Linked DNA regions of Homo sapiens: region 2 is linked to region 1. The links are contacts of gene promoters, found by promoter capture Hi-C in blood cells and fetal thymus (Javierre and others, 2016). All regions are on one chromosome and are shown on one strand. The core of a region is centred on a gene start or on the middle of the fragment in contact, and the rest is flanking DNA. Distances in the headings are between cores, read along the strand shown.

Region 1 (5,652 bases), core at 1,352-3,851:
CACCTCACTCCTGCACTGCACTGACCCAGCCTGGCCCACCTCTGGCCATTCCTCCATAGACTGAGGTCTCTCATGGGGAACTGAGGTCACCCTTTGCTGCCTCACGCTGCCTCTGGGATCAGAGGCTCTTGGATGTGATTTCTAAGGTCATCTCCTCTTCTCTCCTCTCCTGCCTCCTTCACCAGCACCAAGCTTCCTACAGCTCCTGGAATGGTTTCCTCCACCCACAAGGAAAGTGAGTGACCTCTACACAATCCTCACCTCTTGCCAGGCTAATTCTTTTCTTTTTTGAGACATCTGCAGATGCCACCTCCTGTGGGAAGTCCTCCCTGATTACCTCTCTCTCCTCCCACCCTTGTTTAGCAATACCATAGTTCTTTCTCAATGAAGCAATTAGTCCTTGAGGCAACTGACAACTCCACACCCCCAGTTCCCTGAGAGCAGAGCCTATGCTTTATATACTTTGCTTCTCCAGTTTCAAGCCAGGCCGTGGCAGGAGGGCAGTCAGCCAGTGCCTGCTGAGCTCAGCCCAATTCTGGTCCCTTCTCCTCTCTCTGTTCTTTTCCCAGGGCAGGCCCTCCCCTCCCCAGGAACCTTCAGGGGAGCGTGGATGATTGATGACTGAGAGAGAAGTTGGGGGGATCCAGCTGTGTGGAGAGGGCTGGGGGCTTTTTTTGTTTGTTTGTTTGTTTGTTTGAGACAGAGTCTTGTTCTGTCACCAGGCTGGAGTGCAGTGGCACGACCTTGACTCACTGCAACCTCTGCCTCCCGGGTTCAAGCGATTCTCCTGCCTCAGCCTCCTGAGTAGCTGGGACTATAAGCGTGTGCCACCATGCCCAGCTAATTTTTGTATTTTTAGTAGACATGGGGTGTCACCATGTTGGCCAGGATGGTCTTGATCTCTTGGCCTTGTGATCCACCTGCCTTGGGCTCCCAAAGTGCTGGGATTACAGGCATGAGCCACCGCGCCCAGGCTGGGGGTTCTCACATGTGACCCTGCACCACCCCACTGCAGGAGGCCCCCGAGATGCAGACGCCCCAGCACAGGCCAGAGTCGGCCTTGGTGGGCTTGAGGGGAGCCAGCAGGGTCTGCATATTTCTGAAGTCCCTTAGCTGCAGGTGGGCTCAGAGAAACCCCCAGCTGGGAAGCTTGAGGAGACAGTGCGTTCTGGGCACTTACCTTTCCTTCTCCTCCACCACAGGAGGAGGAGGCACAGCAGTCCCAAAATGACAGTTTTGAGCACAGCGACAGCCAATGCAACCCTGATGGCAGTGTCCAGACTTAGGTGCCATGATTCTGAGTGCCCTTTGCTTTCTGTGACCCTGAGGCCGGCTATGGTGGTTGTGCTGCTGGGCCTCCAGGTGGTGGTGGTTGTGACAGCTGGAAGAGATGAGGAATGAGCAGACCCTCTTCTGGGGGTGTGGGGCGTCTGGATGAAAGGCATGGTGTGCTGCTTTCTAGATTGGGGACATTCAGGATGAGCAAGCTGCTCTCAGAAGCCCAGACATGGAAGGGGTAGCAAGGTGAAATGCTAACAGCTCTCAATCCAGACCACTGGGTTTAAATGTGAAGACATCAGTGGTCACCAAAACCCTCACTGCGGTGGGCAAGGCAGGTGTCAGGGCAGCTGGACTCACCCTGGGTGATGGTGAGTTTGGTCCCCTTGATGGACTGCAACTGCTGCCTCCCTGATCTCCGGGTGTCCAGCTCGACTCGGCAGAAATACACAGACTGGTCCTCCTTCCGCAGGTTTGAGATCCTGAGGAAGCCGCTCTCCTGACCCTCTGTCCAGTTCAGAAAGAGCCGGTTCACATAATCCTTGTGAATGGAAGGCGGCCTTGTGCTGTAGAAGGACTGCCCGTGGAAGTGGCCCCGTCTCCAGGATATTCTCACGTTGGGAACTATGGCTAACTCCCAGGGGTAATAGAAGGAGAAGGGGATTTCCACAGAGCCACCCATGGAGGCTGAGAGGTGTTTTGGTTGAGTGACCCCATAAAGGTAGCTTGGACCAGATCCTGTGGAGCCACCTAGAGGAAGGAGGGAGTGAGTGGGGGAGAGACCTTGAAACCACCTCAGGACACAAAGAGGGTGACCCCAGACCCTCCCACACCTTCACCCACAGGCAGTCGTGTGACAGGTGGCTGGACTGACCTCTGGCCTGGGTCTCCCACTCTTCAGGCATGGGGGAGGGTGGAGGGGGAAGAGATGGCGGCACCCACCCCTATGGGACCCGCCCTTGTTTGCTGGAGGTGGGAGCCTGGCCCCTGCCCCAGATGTTCTGCCTTTGTCTTGGGTTGGCCCCTCCTGTGGTTTGGGCAGAGACCATACCTGGGCGGTCCTGGGTACTCACCAGGCTGCAGAAATGCTGGCGGCTGCAGCAGGAGCAGCAGGGGCAGCAGCAGGGGCCGACCCATGGCCTTGTTCTTCTCCAGGGGACGGGGAGACCAGCAGAGCTGTCCAGGCAGGAGAGGGGCCCTGTGGAGGGGCTGCCTGAGGGCTGAGGTGAGTGGGGAGAGCCAGGGTGAGGCTCCCCAGAGGGCTGTGGGGGCCGGGGACCTTCCCCAAACCAGTACACCTCCAGGGTGACCAGCACTTCCTTTATCCATCTGGCTTCTTATTGCAAAAGGGCCTTAGGTGCCTTTTTATCCCTTGCCTAATTGCTCCGGCCAGGACTTCAAATCCTTTTTTTTTTTTTTTTTTTAGTAGAGATGGGGTTTTGCCATGTTGGCCAGGGTGGTCTCACACTCATAGGCTCAAGTAATCTGCCCGCCTCAGCCTCCAAAAGTGCTGGGATTACAGGCGTGAGCCACTGTGCCCGGCCTGACTTCAAATCCTGTGTTGAATAGAAGTAGTGAGAGCGGGCATCCTTCTCTTGTTCCTGATCTTGGAGGCAAAGATTTCAGTCTTTCATCTAAAATGACTGAAAGACTTTCAGCCATGGGCCTTGCATGACTGGCCTTTATTTTGTTGCAGTACATTCCTTCTCTTCCTGGTTTGTGGAGTGTTTTACCAGGAAAGGGTGTTCAGGCTGGGCACAGTGGCTCAAGTCACACAAAAGTGTCAAGTCAGCCCTGCCCAAGGGCCCCAGTGCCCATCTTCCTGCTGAGGGGCTGGGCCTCACCTTGGCTGGCTGGGCCCCTCCCACCTGGATCCCTGCAGACCCCACCGCACTCAGCCTCACTTCTCATCCCTTTCTCTGTCCAAGGCCAGCGCAGGCTCTTTCAGGGAGAGGAAAGGCGGGCCTGAGTCTGTGCTCTGCTGCACCCCAGATTCAGTCCTCAGAGAGGAGAAGGAGGAAGCCAGTGGAGGTCACAGGCGCTCAGCCCCCAGCCCAAGCACCAGAGCCCCCAGCTTGTCCTCTGTCCCTCTCCCTCCCTGGCAGGGGCTCCCATGCAGTCCCCAGGCACCACCACAGCCCAGCTGGCCTCTTCCCACCCCAGGCCTGCTCCCTTGGTGCAGGGACCACAGTCTTGCTCAAGGGGTGAGGGGGCTGACGGTCCCCTACACAGAGACTGGTCCCTCTCGAGGCCACCCCTTGACCCCCAGACATGAGACTGGATCTGCAGGGTCCCCTCTGACCTCCCTGCCCTACACAGGAGGGGACAGAGCTTGGAGAAGCCCTGTCCCAGGCCACATGACTTGCAGGGCAGTCCCAGGACTGGAGCCCCCTCTACCTGGATCTCTGGGCCTCAACTTCTGAGTTGCAGGAACTCAGGCATAGGGGAGCCCCAGGAGGTTGTTCCCTCATACAGCCCCTCAGGTCATTCCCTCCACACACCTGAGCCTATGGCTGAACCAGGAAGGTTCCTTGGTGCCAGGGCAGCTGGACTCACCCTGGGTGATGGTGAGGTGGGTCCCCTTGATGGACTGCCACGACAGCCTCCCTGATCTGTATGTCCAGCTGGACTTGGCAGAAGTACACAGACTGGTCCTCCTTCCGCAGGTTCGAGATCCTGAGGAAGCCTCCCTGAGGAAGTGAAGGCTCAGAGCAACAGTGGGCACCCCGCACAAAGTCCTGGGCCCGTCTCTAACAGGGGATCTGCAGGTCTTTGCCCGGGGGTGGTCACTGGAGCTTTGGTGACCCACAGGGCTCCCTCCATAGGAGGCTCTGCCCATCCTCTCCAGAGTAAGGTGGCATCAGCTGAGGGGCCGTGGGGACAGGAAGGCAGGATTTCACCAGAGGAAGTGATAACAATCTTCTTGAGACAGAAGCAGGCAGGGACAGGCCTCCCTTCTCTTGTCAGTCTCTTCCCTGGTCCCAGTAGGCTCCTCTGTGCTTCCCAGGGCCAGTCAGGCCGATCCACCCTCCTTCCCTTCACAGGTCTGAGGAAACAGGCTCCCCATGCTCAGGAAACCCCTCCGTCTGAGCCAGGCCCTATACACCTCATTCTCCTTGTTCAACCCACAGGGAAACTGAGGCACCGGGGCTTTGGACTGAACTGGTCCCACCTGCAAAGGTGGGCCGAAAAGAGGACAAGGGACCCCCTGGCTGTTTGGGCAAGGCCTCAAGAGGGTGGCCCACCCTGCCTGAGGACTTTTTGTTTTTTTTTTTTGAGATGGATTCTCGCTGTGTTGCCCAGGCTGGAGTGCAATGGTGTGATCTTGGCTCACGGTAACCTCTGCTTCCTGGGTTCAAGTAATTCTCCTGCCTCAGCCTTCCAAGTAGCTGGGAATTACAGGTGTGTGCCACCACACCCAGCTAATTTTTATATTTTTAGTAGAGACAGGGTTTCACCATGTTGGCCAGGCTGGTCTCAAACTCCTGGCCTCAAGTGATCTGCCCACCTCAGCCTCCCAAAGTGCTGGGATTATAGGCATGGGATACAACACCCAGCCACTGAGGACTGACTCTTCGTTCCATTCCTGCCTTGCCCGTGGCCCATGGGACCCAGCTAGAAGGTCACCTGCTTACCAGGCTGCCCAAGGAGGGGGCCACATAGAACTTTTAGCCAACAGCCTCTGGGTAGCTCTGGAGGGTACATACTCCCCAGGGGCCTCAGGCCCGGTACCGCCACGTGCATTCTCCTTAGATGCAAGGTGCGTGTTTATGTCACTTTCCGGGCTCTGGACCCAGCTGAACCCCCATGGGAGATTCCTTTTGTGTCAGGATTTCTGCTCTGGAATGGTGTGAGGCCTCCCGGATGGTTCATCCTCCCTCCCCCAACAGCAGTGACAGGGCCTGGGGCTAAGCCTGGGGCTGTGGCTCTCTCTCAGAGGGGGGTTTTGGGAGGCACCGGCCCTGGAGGAGGGCATGATTCCAACATGGGCAGAGTCTAAATCCAGCCCGTTAGCCCAGCAGGTGGCCATGGGAGAGGCATGGGATGCAGTGTTCAGCAGAGGCAGGGAGGGGGCCAGGACCCTGCCCATTTTGAGAACTGCTGCTTGTATGTCCCCACCTTCCCCCAACAACTATCCTCCTTTCCTCACCAGCCACGTCTATGCCTGCCCCAGCCCCTTGCCCCTCCTTGGCACCCACCTTGTTCTTGCTTTCCCCTTGAGATCAGGAATGAGGCACAGATGTCTGCTCTCACTGCCTCCCTTCACGGTACTGGAGTCCTAGCCAGCGCGCTATGCCTGAAGGGAAATACAAGTGCTCTGTGTCTTCTTCAATTCTGTATTGATCTATTTGGCCTCCACCCATCACAGGGCCC
Region 2 (5,652 bases), core at 938-3,437, 380 kb after region 1:
AAGTTATCATCCCAGGCTTTTAAATGTCTTGAGACATTTTCCCAGCTATGTTGATATTTATTATAAGCATAAGGCATTATGCAATAATCAGAAGTATTCCAATCACTCTGTAATTGCATACGGTGTTCCAAATTCATATCTCCCAGCCAGATTACACTTTGGCGGAGATCATTAATTTGATTAGCTAATTTTTGATCAATTTGAGCCTGAGAATTCCAAAGTCTGGAGGAGTTTTTCTGCCATGCTTCAATTCAACATATTGAACGGTTTGAACAGAATTGTGGATGGCAACTCCAGCAGTTGCTGCTGTTGCAGTAACCGCAATTAGTCCTGCAATGATGGCAATAAGAGTAAAAATAAATCTCTTTGTTCTTTTGCGGATACCTTTAAGAACTTCATTGACTATGTGAATAGAGGGGGAAGACTCCCATGGACGATGTAAAGAAACTGGTATCCATACCCCCTCCCTAGCCCTTACCAAGAGAGTACTTGTAGTGGGATTAAAAGTAGCATCAATGCACGTGAACAGCTTACAGTTATCACATTCTATAGTTTGTGTATTGGGAATGATAATTATATTTCCAACCAACAGCATGTAAGGGGGTTTGACATAGCTCCTGATGGGTATCACCCGTTCAGATATGAGGGTGATGTTGAATGTGGGTGTTTTGGTATTAGTGTGAAGGAGTTGATAGGTAGTGTTCCATATCCTTATTCCTGTCATAGCTGCAGCTAATTTTCATAGTTGAGGATGTTCTGGGGTAACAAAGGGATGAATCATTTTTGGTCTAGGAGGAGTAATGCCTGCATCCATCCATTTAAATAGGTAAGGGGACACCCATTGTCTCAGCCTGTATGACTGCCATCCATCCTCTACATAATCTAACAAATAATTAAACTCTGAGCATGAGGTATTTTTGCTGGAGCAATCTTGCCAATAATGCCCTTTTGGAGCCCAATCAATAACAATACCTGCGGCTAGACTTTGGAGCACAACGGCCTTAGGAGCATTACAATTATTCCATAAAATTGAAGTCACTATAAAAGGTCCCTTTGTAGGTTTCTTTAACCAAAAGAGAGGCTGGGCACAGTTGCTCACACTAGTAAACCCAGCACTTTGGGAGACCGAGGCGGGCAGATCACGAGGTCAGGAGTTCAAAACCAGCTTGGCCAACATGGTGAAACCCCTGCCTCAGCTTCCTGAGTGCTGGGATTATAGGCATGTGCCACCACGCGCAGCTAATTCTTGTATTTTTTCAGTAGAGACGAGGTTTCATCATGTTGCCCAGGCTGGTCTCGAGTACCTGACCTCAACCTGAGGTGATCCAACCACCTCAGCCTCCCAAAGTGCTGGGATTACAAGCATGAGTCACCGCACCCGGGCCCCAGTCACTTTAGAATAGCATGTTGCTTTGTATTCGGAGGGTCTCTCTGCAAATAGCCCATCAACACTGAGCGTGCCTGGAAAGACCTGGTTTTCAAATAACTGGCTTCGTCTGTGTAAAACGAGTCTTGTTGTATGCATTAAAAATTATCTTGGCTGGGCGTGGTGGCTCACGCCTTTAATCCCAGCATTTTGGGAGGCTCGTTCTGTTGCCAGGGAGGCTGCAAAAGGAGGATGCGGCTATTTCTGCTTCCATCATGGAAGGCTGGGATTCCACAGGCACAGAAAGGAAGGAGGGAGAGATGGGAATGTGACTGTCCTCCAGACACAGCCTCTGGCAGGATCGGATGTGGGAGAGTGAGGGTCCCACCCCAGCTGGGGTCTACCCAGGTCCATGTCTTGGACATGTTGAGAGTTTTTCTGGAAGGCAGGGATACAGTGTGGTCCAAAAACACACAAATGCCCCTACTGGCCCAGGGGTTGTCACAATAGACTGGAAGGGTGACACATCCCAGGCGCTTGCCACCCATCACACGCACCTCCTACCCACTGGCATCCTTCCACCCCAGGCACACACAAAGCCTCAGTCCAGAGATCAACTCTGGACTCAGCTCTGAATTTGCATATCCTGTGTGTAGATTCATTCTTCATAACCTCTGCCCAGCCTAGCTTGTGTATCATTTTTTTTTCTCTATTAGGGGAGGAGCCCGTCCTGGCACTCCCATTGGCCTGTAGATTCACCTCCCCTGGGCAGGGCCCCAGGACCCAGGATAATATCTGTGCCTCCTGCCCAGAACCCTCCAAGCAGACACAATGGTAAGAATGGTGCCTGTCCTGCTGTCTCTGCTGCTGCTTCTGGGTCCTGCTGTCCCCCAGGAGAACCAAGATGGTGAGTGGGGAAAGCAAGGGATGGGTGCTGGAGAGGACTGGAAGGAGGTGAGGAACAGGACATGTGGCTGGGAGACAGGCTGGATGCAGCTGGGATACCCTGGCATACGGCAGGAATGGGTGCCCAAGGCTGTCAACTCCCTCAGCTCACACACTTCCAGGAGCATTCAGGGAGCCTCTGCGCTGGCCCGAAATAAGACCTTCAGGAATCTGAATCTAAAACCCCTAGTTTACAGTGAAAACAAAGACTCCAAAGACCAAGCGACCTGCTTGGGGTAGACAGTCAGGACGGAGTAGGAACCATATGCCTGGAGCTGCTTCTGCTCCTGTTCCTTCCCTCCTTCCGATGGCTGGGTACACCTGCCTGACGCTGAGGGAAAGAGAGAGCAGCCCCAAGGGGAAAGTGGGAAGGCAGGTTGGCTGGAGGGATGGTGCTAGAAGGAAACCCGTGCCCAAATCCCACACTCAGACACCACTGCAGTGGGTCTGGAAGGCGAGTGGCTGGAAGAGAAGAGAGTGGGAGCTCCGGGAGATCAAGAGTCACTCCTAGGATAAGGGAAGGAGGCTGTTTGTGGCATGAGAATGTGCAGGATAAAGACATGGAAGCGAATGGCTTCTCAGTTGTGTGAGTTTAAAATTCATGACATTTACAAATTGTCAGAAAAGGTGTTATATGTTTGTTATATAACAATCACTTTGGAATGTTAATCTGATTCTGTGCCAAAATCTGAATTACTCAGGGTTCTCCAGAGAAACAGAACTAATAGGTGGTACACATATACATATATATGTACGTACACATACATACATACACTGTATACACATGGATACACACACACATAGGAAGAGATTTACATATATGTATACAAAAGAGAGAGAGAGTAGAGATTTATTTTAAGAAATTGACTCACACTATTGGGAGGAGTAACAAGTCCTAAATCTTCAGAGCCGGCCAGCAGGCTGGAGACCCAGGGAAGAGTTGATGTCTTAGTCTTGATTCCAAGGGCAGACTGTAGGCAGAATTCTTTCCTCTTTAGGGGACATCTGAGGCTTTTTCTCTTAAGGCCTTCAACTGATTGGATGAAGCCCACCACTATGGAGAGTAATCCACTTTACTCAAGGTCTACTGATTTTTTTGTAAATTAAAAAAAAAACTGTGGGTGCATAGTATGTGTATATATTTATGGGGTACATGAGAGGTTTTGATTCAGGCATGCAATGTGAAATAATCACATCATCAAAAATGAGGTATCCATCCCTTCAAGCTTTTATCGTTTGTGTTACAGACAATCCAATTATACTTTTTTGGTTATTTTAGTTTTTAAAAGTATTTGATTATTTATTTATTTATTTATTTTTGAGACAGAGTCTCACTCTGTCACCCAGGCAGGAGTGCAGTGGCATGATCTCGGCTCACTGCAACCTCCGCCTCCCAGGTTCAAGCAATTTTCCTGCCTCAGTCTCCTGAGTAGCTAGGACTACAGGCACCTGCCACCACACCTGGCTAATTTTTTTGTATTTTTAGTAGAGACGGGTTTCATCATGTTGGCCAGGCTAGTCTTGATATCCTGACCTCGTGATCTGCCCGCCTTGGTCTCCCAAAGTGCCGGGATTACAGGTGTCAGCAACTGCGCCTGGCCTCTCTTTTGGTTATTTAAAAGTGTACAATTAAATTATGATTATTATTATTATTTTTGAGATGGATTCTTGTTCTGTCACCCAGGCTGGAGTGCAGTGGCGTGATCTTGGCTTACTGCAAACCTCCGCCTGTTGGGTTCAAGCAATTATCTTGCCTCGGGTGTACACTGCCACACACGGCTAACTTATGTATTTTTAATAGAGATAGGGTTTCACCATGTTGGCTAGACTGGTCTTGACCTCTTGACCTCAAGTGATCCACTCACTTCAGCCTCCCAGAGTGCTGGAATTACAGGCACGAGCCACCACACCTGGCCCCAGTTAAATTATTATTGACTATAGTCACCCTGTTGTGCTATCAAATAGTAGGTCTTATTCATTCTTCTTTTTTTTTTTTTTTTTGTGACAGAGTTGCCCAGGCTGGAATGCAGTGGTGCAATCTTGGCTCACTGCAACCTCTGCCTCCCGGGCTTAAGCGATTCTCCTGCCTCAGCCTTCTGAGTCGCTGGGACTACAGGTGTGTGCCACCACGCCCGGCTAATTTATGTATTTTTAGTAGAGATGGGGTTTCACCATGTTGGCCAGGCTGGTTTCGAACTCCTGACCTCAAGTGACCCACCTGCCTCAGCTTCCCAAAGTGTTGGAATTACAGGCATGAGCCACCACACCTGGCCCCAGTTAAATTATTATTCACTGGAGTCACTTTGTTGTGCTATCAAATAGTTTTCTAACTATTTTTTTTGTACCCATTAACCACCCTCCCAATTTCCCCCCAACCCTGCCACTACCCTTCCCAGCCTTTGGTAACCATCCTTCTACTCTCTATGTCCATGAATTCAATTGTAGGGTCTACTGATTTAAAGGCTAATCACATTTAGACACTCAGGAGCAAGAATAATTTTAGTAATTGAACTAGGATTCTGCCATATGACCTCCAACATCATTAGCACCTGTGTAAATTGTATCATAAAATAATTATGGAACTATTATGGAAATGTCCCTCTCTCCCAGATCCCACCTTGTACCAAAATGCAAGGTACAACCCCGGGAATTCTGAGCTCCATCCTAGTCTTACCCTGTGCTAATTCAGTCTGGGTCATTTCTTGAATTTTCTGGTAAATTCTCCTTTCTACCCTTTCTAACTATATGTATTTGTCAGGTTAAGCTAGAAGTGTTAATTTTTTTTTTTTTGAGATGGAGCCTTGCTTTGTCACCTAGGCTGAAGTGCAGTGGCATGATCTCAGCTCACTGCAAGCTCCGCCTCCCGGGTTCATGCCATTCTCCTGCCTCAGCCTCCTGAGTAGCTGGGACTACAGGCACCCGCCACCATGCTTGGCTAATTTTTTGAATTCTTAGTAGAGACGGGGTTTCACCATGTTAGCCAGGATGGTCTCGATCTCCTGACCTCGTGATCCACCCGCCTCGGCCCCCTAAAGTGCTGGGATTACAGGCGTGAGCCACTGAGCCCGGACGAAATGTTAATTTGTTTTTTTTGAGACGGAGTCTCACTCTGTCATCCAAGCTGGAGTGCAGTGGCATGATCTTGGCTTGTTGCAACCTCTGCCTCTCTGGTTCAAGTGATTTTCCTGCCTCAGCCTCCAGCATGACTGGGATTACAGGCCCGCACCACCATGCCCAGCTAATTTTTGTATTTTTTAATAGAGATGGGGTTTCACCATGTTGGCCAGGCTGGTCTTCAACTCCTGATCTCAAGTAATCTGCCTGCCTTGGCCTCCCAAAGT

The links. Contacts are between HindIII fragments. The CHiCAGO score rates a contact against its expected background, and 5 or more counts as called.
Region 2: the fragment with the promoter of AZGP1 here is called in contact with the fragment with the promoter of PILRB in region 1 in 5 of 17 cell types (activated CD4 T cells, naive CD8 T cells, total CD4 T cells and 2 more); the score reaches 7.8 in activated CD4 T cells.

What each region holds. Positions count from the first base shown.
Region 1 is chr7:100,355,066-100,360,717 of GRCh38, reverse strand. PILRB (paired immunoglobin like type 2 receptor beta) reads right to left here and starts at 2,601. Exons shown (of 4, transcript NM_178238.4): 1 at 2,352-2,601; 2 at 1,639-2,028; 3 at 1,181-1,381. The coding sequence starts at 2,415. STAG3L5P-PVRIG2P-PILRB (STAG3L5P-PVRIG2P-PILRB readthrough) reads right to left here. Exons shown (of 17, transcript NR_036570.1): 12 at 5,478-5,575; 13 at 3,835-3,968; 14 at 2,352-2,498; 15 at 1,639-1,819; 16 at 1,181-1,381. It overlaps MIR6840 (microRNA 6840), which reads right to left and starts at 4,067; the gene lies at 3,997-4,067. The HindIII fragment of the contact is 11,655 bases long and covers 1,152-5,652 here.
Region 2 is chr7:99,972,566-99,978,217 of GRCh38, reverse strand. It overlaps AZGP1 (alpha-2-glycoprotein 1, zinc-binding), which reads left to right and starts at 2,187. Exons shown (of 4, transcript NM_001185.4): 1 at 2,187-2,273. The coding sequence starts at 2,198. The HindIII fragment of the contact is 13,516 bases long and covers 1-3,539 here.